Regions from separate parts of the Homo sapiens genome. Here region 2 is linked to region 1. Evidence: promoter capture Hi-C in human tissues and cell types (Jung and others, 2019). All regions are on one chromosome and are shown on one strand. The core of a region is centred on a gene start or on the middle of the fragment in contact, and the rest is flanking DNA. Distances in the headings are between cores, read along the strand shown.

Region 1 (7,224 bases), core at 1,657-4,156:
TCAGGAGGCTTTCTGTCCTCACTAAATCACAAGTATAAATTGATCCCCCTGTCCCAGCTGCATCCTGAGTGAGAGAAACACTCCAAATTGTCAATGGACATTTTGAGTTTGGTGCTAGCTGATGAATTGGCATTATTTAATATTAATCGTCTATAAAGTAAACTCGAAAGCAAGACAGTATCAGGGTTAAGAGCTCAGACAGCCCTAAGTCCACTTCTCAGTTCCTTCATTTATTAGTTGTACGACCTTGAGCAAGTTGCATACGCTGTCAGTTTCTTATCTATAAAAGGTGCATAATAGTGGCACCTTCTCCAAAGGGTGTTTTGAAGATTGAGAAAACTGCCAGCATAGAACCTGGCACAGAGGGAACAGTTAACATTTGTTCTTTGTTGAAAGGTAGAGACCACCCATAAGAGAAGGGCCATTGTTTAGCAAAGTCTTGGAACCAACCCAAATGCCCCTCAACAATAGACTGGATAAAGAAAACGTGGCACATATACACCATGGAATACTATGCAGCCATAAAAAAGAATGAGTTCATGTCCTTTGCAGGGACGTGGATGAAGCTGGAAACCATCATTCTCAGCAAACTAACACAGGAACAGAAAACCAAACATAAGTGGGAGTTAAACAATGAGAACACATGGACACAGGGAGGGGAACATTACACACTGGGGCCTGTCGGAGGGTTGGGGGGCAAGGGGAGGGAGAGCATTAGGACAAATACCTAATGCATGTGGGGCTTAAAACCTAGATGACGGGTTGATAGATGCAGCAAACCACCATAGCACATGTATACCTATGTAACAAGCCTGCACGTTCTGCACATGTATCCCAGAACTTAGAGTAAAAATAAAATAAAATAAAATAAAATAAAATAAAATAAAATAAAATAAAATAAAATAAAAGTGTTACCCCAATCTTAAAAAAGAGAGGGGCCATTGTTGTGAATATTTTTCCTAATTGACCCCAAACTATTAGATTTAGTATTAATAGCAGAGGATCTCAAAGTACGGTCTCTGGACTAGCAGTATCAGTATCACCGGGAACTTGTCGGAAAGTCAAATTCTTGGTCCCCTCCCCAGAGCTACTAGAAAGTCCAGGGGCAAGGATCAGCCATCTGTGTTTCAACACACCCTCCAGGTGAATCTCATGCTGCTGAAGTTTGAGAACCACTTCCATGCAGAAATGCCCTACACTTCTCCTTTGTGGTTTCACTTCTTTTTCCTTGGATCCCAACAGTTCAAAATATTGGTTATATAAAGCTTCAGAAAATTCCCAGCTTTTTCCTTATTTTAAAATCTAGCTGGTCTCTGAGGCCCCTTTCCATGCTACTCTTCCATAGGAAAAACAACTGTCACTGGTCTGACACCTGATGGCTAAGGCATTCACCCCTGTCTTCTCACTCATTTTGATCCGACCCGCCTCTTTGCAAAGTAGGGAGACCAAGGCTCTGAAAGTGGAATAACTTGTCTACAATTATGCAACCCACAGGAATAGATCTGAGACTCAAATTTATTTTTTTCTGACTGCTATTTGCATTTCACTATGTTTTCATTTCCCAGAAGAAATGTTCTACCAGTGACATATGGATGGTGGAACATTCAGCTGCATGAATGGAGGCTGTGCAGGCAGTGTGAGCCACTTCTGCATTAGACCTTGACATTCCTTGCTTTCTTGAAGAATAACAGATTTCCCAGGAGAGTGGTTTAGAATAACAACTACAGCATCCTTGGATGTTGATGCCTCATAACCCTGTAGATATAAGGCAGTTCCCCCAGCAATATATTATTGTTATGACCATTTCTCGGGCAAACTCTCTGAGGCTCAGAGAGGTTAAGTGCCTTGACCATAGTCACACAGCTAGGAAATGCTGAAGTTGAGATTTGAAATACAAGAATTGATAGTCTGCCTGCCTTCAATTTTCATAATGAATACTGTGCTAAATGTTATACTCTGCTTCATGATATTAAAAAATTAATCATTTCTCTCTTCCTTTTTTTCAGAGGACTCCTTCTTTAATGTGTGAAAAACAATACAGCCGTAGACCTGACAATTGGCACAAACAGTTGGGCCCTATGAGGGATGTTCCTGGGACCCCTGAGATTCTACCTCCCGTCAGGAAAATGTCAGGAACAAAGAGAATGGTTCTGCCTGTAATCCCAGCACTTTGGGAGGCCAAGGCGGGCAGATCACGAGGTCAGGAGATCGAGACCATCCTGGTTAACACGGTGAAACCCTGTCTCTACTAAAAAATACAAAAAATTAGCCGGGCGTGGTGGCGGGCGCCTGTAGTCCCAGCTACTCTGGAAGCTGAGGCAGGAGAATGGCCTGAAACCGGGAGGTGGAACTTGCAGTGAGCCGAGATCGCGCCACTGCACTCCAGCCTGGGTGACAGAGCGAGACTCCGTCTCAAAAAGAAGAAGAAGAAAAAAAAGAGTGGTTCCATCAGAAGCCATTCCACCAGTTCTAGATTGAGGTCCTAAGTAGACCTGATCACAGTGTGCCTACAGCTGGGCTTAGGGAGCAAGGCAGCCAGAAAATGCCTAGCAGAGTCTCCAGCCTTCTATCTTAAGATTGCTGTGTCCATGCAGAGACAGGAGCTCAATTTGAGAACCTGTTGTGACTCTTCAGTTACTTCCCAGCCTCCCAGCACCTCCAAGGATGGGTGGCTGCACGCCTGTCTTGCTGGAGGGCACTACCCTATGTCTGAACCCCTGATTCCTTGTGGTTCTCAAGAGACACTTCCGAGGGACCGCCTAGGTCCACGTCTCTGCTGGTGCTATCCAGGCTCTGTCAGAGTCTTGCGGAAGAATTCACAGAAGTCTTACCTTGTGCTCCTGGGAAGTCTTTGGATGCTCTTTCTTCAGGCTCTGTGGGTTTCTGCAGCCTGATCTAGAAATTCTGGTGCTAGCTGATGGATTGGCACTATTTAATGTTAATCATCTAGAAAATAAACTCAAATTAGGTTTCCCTTTCAAGCTCCAAAGTCCTCTTTGCAGTTTCATTTGGAGTCAATACGTCTATTCTCTGGCATCCACGCTGTTTATTTGCCCCTCAGAGTATTTATGGCCTTGGCTAAAGTAGGATTCCATGGGATCTCCTTCCAAAGTTTCTCTTTGAGAAAGTGAGAAATCCAGAAGTGGGTCAAGATTTTCTGAGCCAATAGATTTCCCTTATAAGCAATTAGTGAGCATTTATTGAGTGTCTGGTGTGTGCTAGGTGGTATGCTAGGATACGAGGTGCTCTAGAATTTGCAAGGAGTTGACGAGACAGAATATAACCACTGTTGGGATAACTCTAGTGCAAGTATGGATAGGAACAAACAAATATTCAGTCAGACCATCAGGGATGATGTGGCTGGGAGATGTGTCAAAGGGATGGGCTGGTCCTAGGAGGTTTGTCGAGTGGCTGGACATGGAATTGGACATCTAACTCAAGTTGGACATTGAAAGAAAGACTGGATCAAAGCTGCACTGAAGGCACAGTGTATTCCAGAAGAGTGTGAACCAGAGGTGTGGGAGCATGTCCAGATTCACCCCATCCTCCAACGCTCATCCTGAAGCCTCTTCCTCCACAAAGCCTTCCCTGAACTTTACAGTCAAACTAAATCTCTTTGGAACCCACATGCCCCAAATGTGAGCTGCCTGTGATGTTTGTGTGTGTGTGTGTCTCCAATTTTTCCAGCCTTATAGAATCACCCTTTCCTTTAGTTTACATGAACTGGCTAAAGCCGCCATCCTATATATAGTAGCTCCATTCCCAATAAGTTGGAGGATTTCTTCATGTAGATTACGCTTTACATAGTCAATTTCCTTGCTCAATTTCCTATACACTCCTGATCTCCCTCACATCTCCCCTTTTACGGCTGTTTGTCCACCCCACATGAACTCAGTCCTGGAACACATCTCCTGCTGTGGGTTGAAATGGAACCCTCCAAAAAGATATACTGAAGTCTTAACCCCTCATCTAGTATCTCAGAATGTGACTTTATTCGGAGATAGTTTCATGGCAAAAGTAATTAGGTTAAAAGGGGCCCTAATTTACTATGACTGGTGTTTTTGTAAAAAGGGGATATTGCACAGACTTGCACACAGGAAGAAGCCTGCATGAACATGAAGGCAGACTCTGGAGTGATGCATCTATAGGCCAAGGAGTGGCCAAGATGCCCACGGACCACCAGAAGCCTGCAGGGAGGTCTGGAATGGAGTCCTTCACAGCCCCAGAAGGAGCCCACCCTGCTGACACCTTGATCTCAGACTTCCAGTCTCCAGATCTGTGAGACGATACGTTGAATTAACAAGCCACCCAGTTTGTAGTCCTTTGTTATGGCAGCACTAGAAAACTCTCCCTTCCTTGATTTTCCTACAGCTTTACTCACACAAAGTGGTTCTGTGTAGCGGAATTTTACTAAAGTGTAGGGGGTGGGAAAGATGCCAATGCCCCAAAACAGAGCAATGAACTAAACATCAAGTGCTGGATGTCTCTGATCTTAGTCCCTTGCTCGTTCCTGTCACAGAGAACTTCAGCTGGGCCCTTTCTTCTCCAGGACCCTGGCCTTCCTCCATGCTTCTAGGCCCCATCCTCTTCCTCTCCACTCTTTCCTTTTCTTCCCATCCTAGAGCCTCGTCCTCCGGCCCCTGCAGAGCTGCCCTCAGAATTTCCAGATGCTTCCTGCAATATTGTGCAGAACAATTCTCTGTTTTACCCTCCCCAACCTGGTCATTTCTTGGGATGGGAGGAGGGCTTCATTTCCCATACCCCAAAAGAGCCAAAAACAGTTATTTCCTAAGGAAACCTGCCGCCACTTGAAAAAAATAAGTGCTTTGTCCCTTGACAGCATCCTACTCCAAACTCTCATACCTTTTTTTTTTTGAGAAGGAGCTTCATTCGCCCTCATTCACCCTCATGTCACCCAGGCTGGAGTGCAGTGGCACAATCTCGGTTCACTGCAACCTCCGCCTTCTGGGTTCAAACGATTCTCCTGCCTGAGCCTCCCAGGTAGCTGGGATTACAGGTTAGCTGGGATTACAGGTGGCTGCCACCACACCAGACCCATTTTTTACTTTTGGTAGAGACCAGGTTTCACCATGTCGGCCAGACTGACCTAAGACTATCCACCTGCCTTGGCCTCCCAAAGTGCTGGGATTACAGGCTCCCATAGCGTTTTGTCGGAACCTCTCCTGCATCCTTGCCCCACTGTTATCCGAGTATGTGTGTATCCTTCCTTATGAGCTTCTGAGCTCCTAAGGGGTGGGATGTGGTTCTTACCTGCAGAGGCAGGTGCTTGGCATTTGATGAATGAGTGAATGGATGCCTGAATTTGGTGAGTTCAAGGTAGGAGCCATTGACAGAGAGGCTGGACAACTGGGATTTGGACATTGTGGGAAGAGGGATTGAAGGGCAGCTGAACAGGGTCTTGAATGCCATGGTCAGGAATTTATTCTGTGGATGCTAGGAACCCTTGCAGGGCTTTGAGGAGGAGAATAACAGCATAAACTCTGGTCTCAGGACCCACACTCTTTGGTCTCAGGAGTCCTTTGCATTTTTAAAAGTTATTAAGTACTCTCGAAGAACACTTGTTTATGTGGGTTAAATTTGTTGATATTTATACCATATTAGAAATTAAAATGGAGATACTTAAAAATGATTTACTAATCTATTTTAAAATAAAATATTTATTACATATTAACATAAATATTTTTAAATAAAAAATAATTCTATTTTCCAAAATGAAAAAAAATTAGTGGGAAGAGTGGTATTGTTTTATAGGTTCATAGGAGAGGAGAAATACCTTTTCTTCAACCATCACTACATTTATGGCCAAGGGCCTTTTGACAAAAGACAGATTAACAAGAGAAAAGCATACACATTTATTTAATATAAGTTTTGCTTGATGTGATGGTCTTCATAAGGAAATAAAGACCTGAAGAAACAGATAAACTTGTGTACTTTTTATGCTAGGTTTGATGAGGACGTGAATAATTGTGAAGTATGATTAAATAAAAAACCATGACTTAATGGTAATAAACTGGGATGAAATTAGCAAGGCCTATTTGTTTAATATCATTTTGTAACCACATTTATTCAGAGATAAGGATGTTCCTTTCCTCTCGGTGTAGGGAGGGCACTTTTCTTTTCTACTTTTTTTTTTTTTTTTTGTCTTTGAGCTCCCATTCTGTCATCTAGGCTGTAATGTAGTGATACAATCATAGCTCACTGCAGCCTCGAACTCCTGGCCTCAGGTGATCCTCCTGCCTCAGCCTCCCAAAGGGTTGGGAGGGTACCTTTCGAATTAGGGTCTTATGAGTTGCTTCAGGGAAGAAGTGGTAGGGAAAGGTGAGCATGACTTTCCTGTTTCTGCTGTTTTCACCGTTGCTAGGACACTACATTTTGTGGCTGTGTGACCTGAACCATATCAGGTATGTATACCTCTTTCCTGTTTGGATTACTGGAAGAGAGCTAGATTTTCACATCTGCTTATATATTGTCTGTTTTGATATGTTGTTTTGGTTGAAGTATATGAAGAAAATCAGATCGGTAGTTAGAAAAGTGAGTATTTTAATAGCCTTTTCAGATAATTACTGGTAGTCTTCTTTCTTAGCCCTCAACATTAATGCCACTTTGGGCTAGACAATTCTTTGATGAAGGGGCTGTCCTGTGCATTGTAGGATGTTCAGCATTATCCTTGGCTTCTACCCACTAGATGCCAATAGCACCCTTTCCCTCAACTCCAGTTGTGGCAACAAAAAATACATCCAGACGTTACCAAATTCACCTCTTCCCGCTTCTTAAGAACCCCTGATACACCGAACTCAAGTGTTAGTTCCCGAAAGGTTACTTGCAGTGTGGAATCTGAAGCTGTATCAATAAGCTTTTTGTACTCTGTGCTATAGACTGAACGTTTTTGTCATCCTAAAATTCCTATGTTAAAACCTAGTCCTCAATGTAATGATATTTGGAGGTGGGTTTTTTGGGAGGTGATTACGTCATGAGGGGCTCATGAATAAGATTAGTGGCTTTATATAATAAAAGACTCCAGAGAGCTCCCTTGGCCCCTCTGCCATGTGAGGACATAGTGAGAGCACTGCTGTCTACGAACCAGGAAGCAGCCCCTCACCAGACACCAAATCTGCTGGTACTTTGGTCTTGGGCTTCCCAGCCTCCAGAACTGTGAGAGATACATTTTGCAGTGGCAAAAGAGCATGGGATTTGGAGTGAGGA
Region 2 (7,224 bases), core at 3,540-6,039, 49 kb before region 1:
ACATTTTGTAGTTCTCAGCGTTCTTTTTCACAGAAATTATATCTCTACCTCCCATTTACTCTCAGTAGTGGTAGAAAACTTAATTTTGCCAATTGAGGATAACTCAGTCACTTCCAATGACTTCCAGTCCATAAGCCCTTAGCCCTCATCTGTCCTTGCTAGCCTCTGCTGAGGTATAGTTTGTCCTTGCTGTTCTCTCAGTGGTGGCCACTGTCCCCACTCTTATTTGCTGCTCATATTTGTTATAAAGTTATAGTCTCACGTAATCCACATTGCACATCTGGCCACTGGCCAGCTCAGGAAACACAGAGAGCTTTCTCACGCTTGGACTGATACACTACATGGGAATGCAGGACTATTGTGTCACCAGGCACAGTCCCCAGCCATCTTTATGTTGTGGCTCCATGCTGTCTGAATATGGGACATCTCTAGTGACCTTGTAGTCTCTAATTCCTCTTAATGGACCTGTGGTTTTTGGCCTACACACTTCCTGAGGGATTTGGTCAGCAGAGGAGAGAGGGAAGCAATCCCAGCTTGGGGCTAACCTCTCTCTTTTTCTCCCTCTCTCTCCCCCAACTCCTCCCCTCAGTTCTGAAATGTCTCTAGTCTCCTTTATATGGCAAGAAAACTGGTCCTAAATCTTCAAGTACATTTCCTCCAACTCTATACTTAATGATCTTAAACTGAAAGCTCTAAATCCTCGAGTCTCCTTTCTTGATTGTAAAAGCCAAAGCTTGTTGTACCCCTTACACCAACTCTGCACTGGCATGATCCTGAGAGTGAATGTCCCCTTGAATGGCACCTCCCTTGCCCCACCCTCATTCCAGTGTTGTGGTCACGGCACTTAGCTACCACGTGGACCACCCTTCCTTTGGGAAGACTTCACAGAAGGGGCAACGTTTAAATAGGGCCTTAAAGGAGGAGGGGGAGTTTGTTGGGTGAAGAAGAAGTGAGTGTGTTGAGGAATGCAGCCCTGCCTTAGTTTTGGGGATGAAGAAACAGAAGGAAGGAGGAAAAGGGGTTGGTGGGAAGCACTTAGGTTTGTACTAAGGGGAGACCAAGTGGTGAGAACACGGACTCTGACGTCACATGGAACTAGGTTTGGATCCCAGTTTTGCTCCTAACTAGCTCGGTGGCCTTGGGCATATAATTTAACACCTTTAAGCTTCAGTGTCCTTAGTTGTGGAGTGGGGATATGAAGGCATGTTTGTTTGAACCGAGATGGGGACAGAGTAAGTGTAAGGATTACACCACACAGAGCGAGGCACCCAGAGGTGCCCTTTTGTGACAGTGGGATAGTTACCCAGGTCCTCTGATAAACATGGGATGACCCTTGGAAGCCCCTGAGGTTAAAAAGAAAAAGTCATTGCAACAAGACCAGCTCAAAATTTAAGCCACATGGTTTATTTCCTTCTGTGGTGTGGATGAGACAAGCCATCTCATCTACCAGGCCTGGTGAACACCAGGCTGACAGTGTCTCCTTGTCCCCTGGAGACGAAGCCCAGGTCCTGTGGTAACCTTCTGTGGTAGCCTTGTCCTTGGGCTATGGGGGTGGGGAAGGGAGTGCTGAGAGGCACAGGGAGGTCCCAAACTGCCACTGCTGTGCCCCTGTCGATGCTGACTGTGGTGGTGCCTCAGGAGTGGGCTGGCGGCAGCTCTCCCCTGCAACCTCCCCTCCATTGGGAGATGGTAGGGGGTGGGGGGCGGGGCCAATGCTGACTTCATATTACAGACAAGGAAAATGAGGGTTTCCAGGAAGCAGGGGGACAATGCCTGGCCTAGACCCAGGACTTCAGGGAGCCTGGGGAGCTGGAAGGGCCTGATGAACCTTATCTGGTTCAACACTCTAGTTTCCAAATAGGAAACCTGAGTTCCATGGATGTGGCAACAGATGACAAAGGACAGAGCTGATCTTGGGGCCAGGAGACCTGCGGCCAGGCCACTACCCTGCTGTGAGGCCTTGGCCTGGTATCGGCACCTCTGTGGAATGCCAGAGTCAGACTCTTCCATTCTGGAGGATTCCGGGCTCTCTGACCTTCCCGAGGCCCGAGGGTCAGGGCAGGCCTCGAACCTGAGTCTCCAATGAGGCCAGGATTTCCCCAATGAGCAGAGAAATGCTTAGATGCACAAGGTGGGTGTCCTGGAAGGGTGACAGGGCTCAGGGAGCTGAAGGACACACACCCCTGACGTCAGCCCGGTGTCTTTTAGAAAGAAAGCACTGGGGAAAGTGTGGGAGAGATGTCCCTGGGGACACTTCACTCAGATGCCGGAGTATGTGTAGATGTGGTGAGGGAGGGCAGCTGGGATGGGGCTGGCCCCTGATGAACAAGGTGGGGGTGGGGAGAGGCTGGGCCCAGAGGGAAAAGGCTGGACTCCACCCGCAGGTGCCACATCTGCTACTCAGACGACTCCTTGGGCATATGCCACATTGTCATAGGCAGGGGGCGCAGAGGCTGCCGGGCTGGGGATGTTGAAGTCTGCGCTGAAGGCGTTTGGCAGGAAGATCACAGGCTGCAAAGAAAACAGCACTGAGCGTCCTGGAGGACGCTGGAGCTTCAGGGTAGTGGTTCAATAGTGCCCCCTTGTGGGTAATCTGAGAACAGCGCCCTGGTACTGAATTCCGCAAGTCTGAATCGCATGCTCAGGGCTCTCCGTGCAACCAATATTTCAAACAACATTTACTGGGGCCAGCTATGATCCAGGCATTGGGAGTACAGCAGTGAACAAAACAGACAAAAGTCCCATTTCTCCAGGCGCTAACGTTCTGCTGTTCTTTTTTTTCTTTTCTTTTTTTTTTTGAGACAGAGTTTTGCTCTTGTTGCCCAGGCTGGAGTGCAATGGCGTGATCTCGGCTCACTGCAACCTCCGCCTCTTGGGTTCAAGCTATTCTCCTGCCTCAGCCTCCCGAGTAGCTGGGATTATAGGCGCCTGCCACCATGCCCAGGTAATTTTTTGTATTTTTAGTAGAGACGGGGTTTCATCATGTTGGCCAGGCTGGTCTTGAACTCCTGACCTCAGATGATCTGCCCGCCTCGGCCTCCCAAAGTGCCGGGGTTACAGGCATGAGCCACCACGTCCGGCTCTGCTGTTCTTTCTCTCCCGACTGCCCTGGCCTGGTTCAGGACTTCGCTCTCTCTTGCCTGCACCGTGGCACCAGCCTCCTTGCAGCTTCCTGGCCTCGAGCCCCGCTTGTCCACCCTCTCCACCTTCCGGCACTGGACAAATCCTCTTGACTGATTTCCCTCAACCAGCTCACTCCCCTGCTCAGACCTTCAATCCCCTCACCCTCAATGCATCCCATCGTGCACCTGCCAAGGGCACCCCACCCTGTGGCCTGCATTTGCCTGCCCGAGGCAGCCTTTGCTCCAACTGGTTCCCCTGCCTTGAACACTCCCTCCAGCCCCTTTCTGTCATCACTGTCCTCCATTTTTTTTGGAAATCAAAGCTTAATTTCCATCTCTATCATGCTGCCCTCCCTGATGCCCCTGTCTCCCATGTGGCCTGGGAACTCCAAAAAGTCTCACTCCTCTGGGTGCAGCACTGCCCCCATGCCCTGAGCCTGGGCCTTCTATTCTGCAAGGCTGCCTGTGGGGCTGCACAGAGCAGTGGCCCTGTGGGTGCTGGTGCACCCAGTGCCACGGGGAGAGCAGTCCTGTCTTCACTGACCTGCGAAGACGTCTTTGGTTTTGTTTTGGTTTTAGAGACAGCCTTCCTCTGTCACCCAGGCTGAAGGGCAGTGGTGTGATCATAGCTCACTGCAGCCTCAACCTCCTGGGCTCAAGCGATCCTCCTGCCTCAGCCTCCCAACTAGCTAGGAGTACAGGCACGTACCATCACACATGGCTAATTAAAAATACATTTTTTTTTGTAGCGATAGGATCTTTTTATGTTGCCCAGGCTTGTCTCAAACTCCAGGGCTCAAGAGATCCTCCCATCTCATTTTTCAAAGTGCTGGGGTTATGGGTGTGAGTCACCATGCCCAGCCCAAAGACTTCTTTGGGCCCCCTGACATGGATGGGACACCCTTCCTAGCGCTGTCTCTTCTTATTGCTTCCCAGAGTGCAGAGGGAGGGGTCTGGAGGCAGAGCGCGCTCCCAGCCAACTGCCTTCCACACAGGCTCAGCTCAGGTTTAGTGGACGTGGGGGTGGGGGTGGGGGTACTCACTGCACTGGCCTGGGCATGGATGGCTTGGCACCCGAAGTGCATGGCAATGACCGCTGTGAAGAACTCCAGGACAGTGAAGATAGTAAGCACGGCCAGATAGCCCCTGTCCACATCCTGGGGACCAAAACCCACAGAAAGGTGAGCCCAGAGTTCTAGAGTAAGGGGGTCCCCCGAGTGAGAACCACTTGCCCAAGGTCATGCGGCTAGTTGGGAGCAGAGCTGTGCCTGGAGCCAGTCCCCCTGCCGCCAGTCCTGCACCCTCCCCTTCACCCTGCAGGCTGCCTCCTTGCTCCTTCTGATGCCTATCTTGGGGAAGGCTCAGAGGATCCATGGATTCATGGGGTCTATAGGGACTGGCAGGCCCTGCCAACGTCCTGGCGCTGCAAACTCTCACCTCCCTACCCTCCTGGACATGGCTGCATCATTTTCCAAGTTTTCCCACCCCGAGGGCCATCTGACAACGCACCCGGTTGGTAACACCAAAATCCATGAGCAGAATGGCTGTCCCAGCAAAGGCCGCCATGACGCTGAGGATGTTGGTGCCCAGGCTGCTCCTCACCTGCAGAGAGCAGAGAGACAGGAGCAGAGGGAATAGGCAAAGAGAAGGAGAAAAGGCAGGGGCTGTGGCTCAGCTGCCCAGCCCCCAGCACGCTGCCTCCCACAGCCAAGGAGGCAGTGGCCACACCACCCTGCACACAGCTGTGTTCTCATTGACTGCTCCCCTTTTCTCTTCTCCTCCCCTGGGACCTCGGGAGGAGGTCTTGTTGTCTCTCTTTCCTTCTCTCGTCTTCTTGGAAGCTGCTAGGGAGAAGGGCACCACCTCCTTTACAGCCTTTCTGGGTGGAGTTTGCAGCCTCCAGCTTACCCCGTACTGTGGCTCCCTCTCCCCCAGGCCCAGCACCTCGCAGGAGAAGCTGCAGCTGAGGCCTGCTCAGGGGCATGGGTTGGGGGAGGCTCTTTGCTGTGGACACTGAGGCCTGGTTGGGAGAGGGGTTGAGTTCATTTCTATGAGGTTCCAGGAAGTGGCTGGCGGAGTGAGGCACTGCAGACACTGGTGGGGCACCAGGCAGGGGAGACAGGAGAGGCAGGAGCTGAAGGTCTGAAGTCTGGGTGGGCTGAGAGGCCTAGGACTCCAGGGTCTAAAGAGCGTGCAGGGCAAGTGACTCCTGGGGTGGTCCAGGCAGCCACCCAGGGGTCACCATCCCCGTGCAGCCCGAACCTGACGGTCTCGTGACCCGTAGCTGGAGCCTTCTGGTTAAACTGCCCCAAGGGGAAACATTCATGGGTGGGCTGGGGACTCTAGGACCTCTTCAGGTTTAAAGACCCCTGATTCTTCTTTTTAAATGGCAATCAGGAGGTCATTGAGATCAGAACAGCCTCACAAGAAATCCATTAATTGATTAAGCCAAAAGCTTTTATTGAGCACCTACTGCATGCCAGGCACTATGCAAAGTGCTGTGAGTCCAGGAGAGAGTAAGTCAGGTCTTGTCCTCCTGGAGCTCACAGCCCGGGGGACACTGGGTTTGGTCCGGAGAGTCCTCGCTTCTAGTCCTGCCCCTCCACAACCCATTCTCTGCCCAGCACCTGGGATACCTCTCAAGTATGGAAACAGGGCAAGGAATTCCCTGCTGAAGCCTCTGTGGTCTCTCATTGTCCTTAAAACAAATCCTGAACTTGGCATTTAGGCTCTGAGTCACCTCCCCGGCCTCTCCCTCTCGGCCCACCCCTTGCCTGTGATGGTCCAGCACTCTGGTCCCCTGTCCAGCCATGGCGTTTCCCGACCGGGCTCTTCCGTGGTTGTTGCCCTCTGAACTGTGAAGACTCGGTTCCGTGATACCTGCTCAGGGACTCCAGACCGTCCCAGCTGAGCTTAGAATGACTCATATTATCCTGCCTGCTTCCTTTCAGCACTTCTCATGCTTGGCAACCATCTTTGTTAGTTTGCTTTACGGGTGTCTACAAGGCACCAGAAGATAAATGCCATGACCTTCACTGCTATGTTCATGACCTTCGCTGCCGTGTTCATGATCTTCATTGCCGTGTTCTCTGAGCCTGACATAAAGCTCATACCCTCCTGTTCAAAGCCTCCATCGCCTCCCAGTGCCTGCAGAAGGCACCAAGCCCTCCACAATCCAGCCCCATCATGGGATTAAATCTCTCTGTCTGATTTCTTTCCACTTTCCTTCTCCTACCTTTGCCTTCGTTGGATGGAGCCAGGCGTGGTTTCAGTGGCGACCCTGCCCACACTCCTCCGTGCATTCTCCAGCTTTCCCTGTGGTATTTCTAAGTCCTCTCTGCTCACCAAGGCCCAGCAGGACTCTTACAGGAGATCTTCTAGCATCTTTCCTTTCTCGGAATGACCATGAGCATGGACCTCACTTTCCACCCTGGCTTGTGTATTGAAAGAGTATCCCTGTCTTCTTCTCCTGGACATGCACAGTCTGCGTCTGGTCTGCCTGGGTGGTGCCCCTCCCCTGGCACTTTGCAGGTCCCCTGAAGTGCTGGGGAATGAGCTGAAGGAGTGAGTGGATGGGAGGGGCAGGGTAGAGTGAGATTTAGCTGTGGCTTCATCCCCGCCCCTGGGTCCCCCTGTTCACACTCACCAGGCAACTGGTGTGGTTCTTCTCGGCTGCCACTGAGAGGGATCCGGAGATGATGAACTGTATGGGGAGAGGGGACCAGGTGAGGCCTCAGCCAGGACCCTGGGCAGGGCAGACCCTGCTTGGGATCTGTCAAGAGGTGCCAGGGAGAGACAACAGCCTCCTGATGCCACTTTCTCTGCCAGGCAGGCACCTTGGGGTCTCTCGGCAGGGGTGTCCCCTGTCCAGAGAACTAGGGCTGTGGCTTACAAGGTGAGTGTTTTCATTGACGTCATATCATCAGGGCCTCATGGGGAAGGCATTGTTCCTTCAAACATTCACTCATCAAACATTTACTGAGTGAGGCTGAACTGAGTGAGCTCATGCCTGTAATCCCAGAAGTTTGGGAGGCCGAGGTGGGAGGATCTCTTGAAGTCAAGAGTTCAAGACCAGCCTGGCCAACATGGTGAAACTCCAGTC

The links. The method cuts DNA at HindIII sites, captures the fragments that hold promoters and counts their contacts. A contact is called where the count stands out against the background at its distance.
Region 2: a contact is called between a fragment that was not itself captured here and the fragment with the promoter of MS4A18 in region 1, in 2 of the 25 tissues and cell types used here (liver and thymus).

Annotation. Positions count from the first base shown.
Region 1 is chr11:60,720,402-60,727,625 of GRCh38, reverse strand. MS4A18 (membrane spanning 4-domains A18) reads right to left here and starts at 2,906. Exons shown (of 7, transcript NM_001354471.3): 1 at 2,832-2,906. The HindIII fragment of the contact is 14,477 bases long and covers 1-4,070 here.
Region 2 is chr11:60,770,892-60,778,115 of GRCh38, reverse strand. It overlaps MS4A15 (membrane spanning 4-domains A15), which reads right to left. Exons shown (of 7, transcript NM_001098835.2): 4 at 6,769-6,825; 5 at 4,632-4,724; 6 at 4,166-4,279; 7 at 1,383-2,511. The coding sequence ends at 2,401. Among named protein-coding and RNA genes, the nearest start is that of MS4A10, 11 kb to the left of the region's middle. RefSeq lists enhancers at 1,785-2,414, 2,415-3,044, 3,045-3,676 and a silencer at 2,559-2,678. The HindIII fragment of the contact is 4,967 bases long and covers 2,306-7,224 here.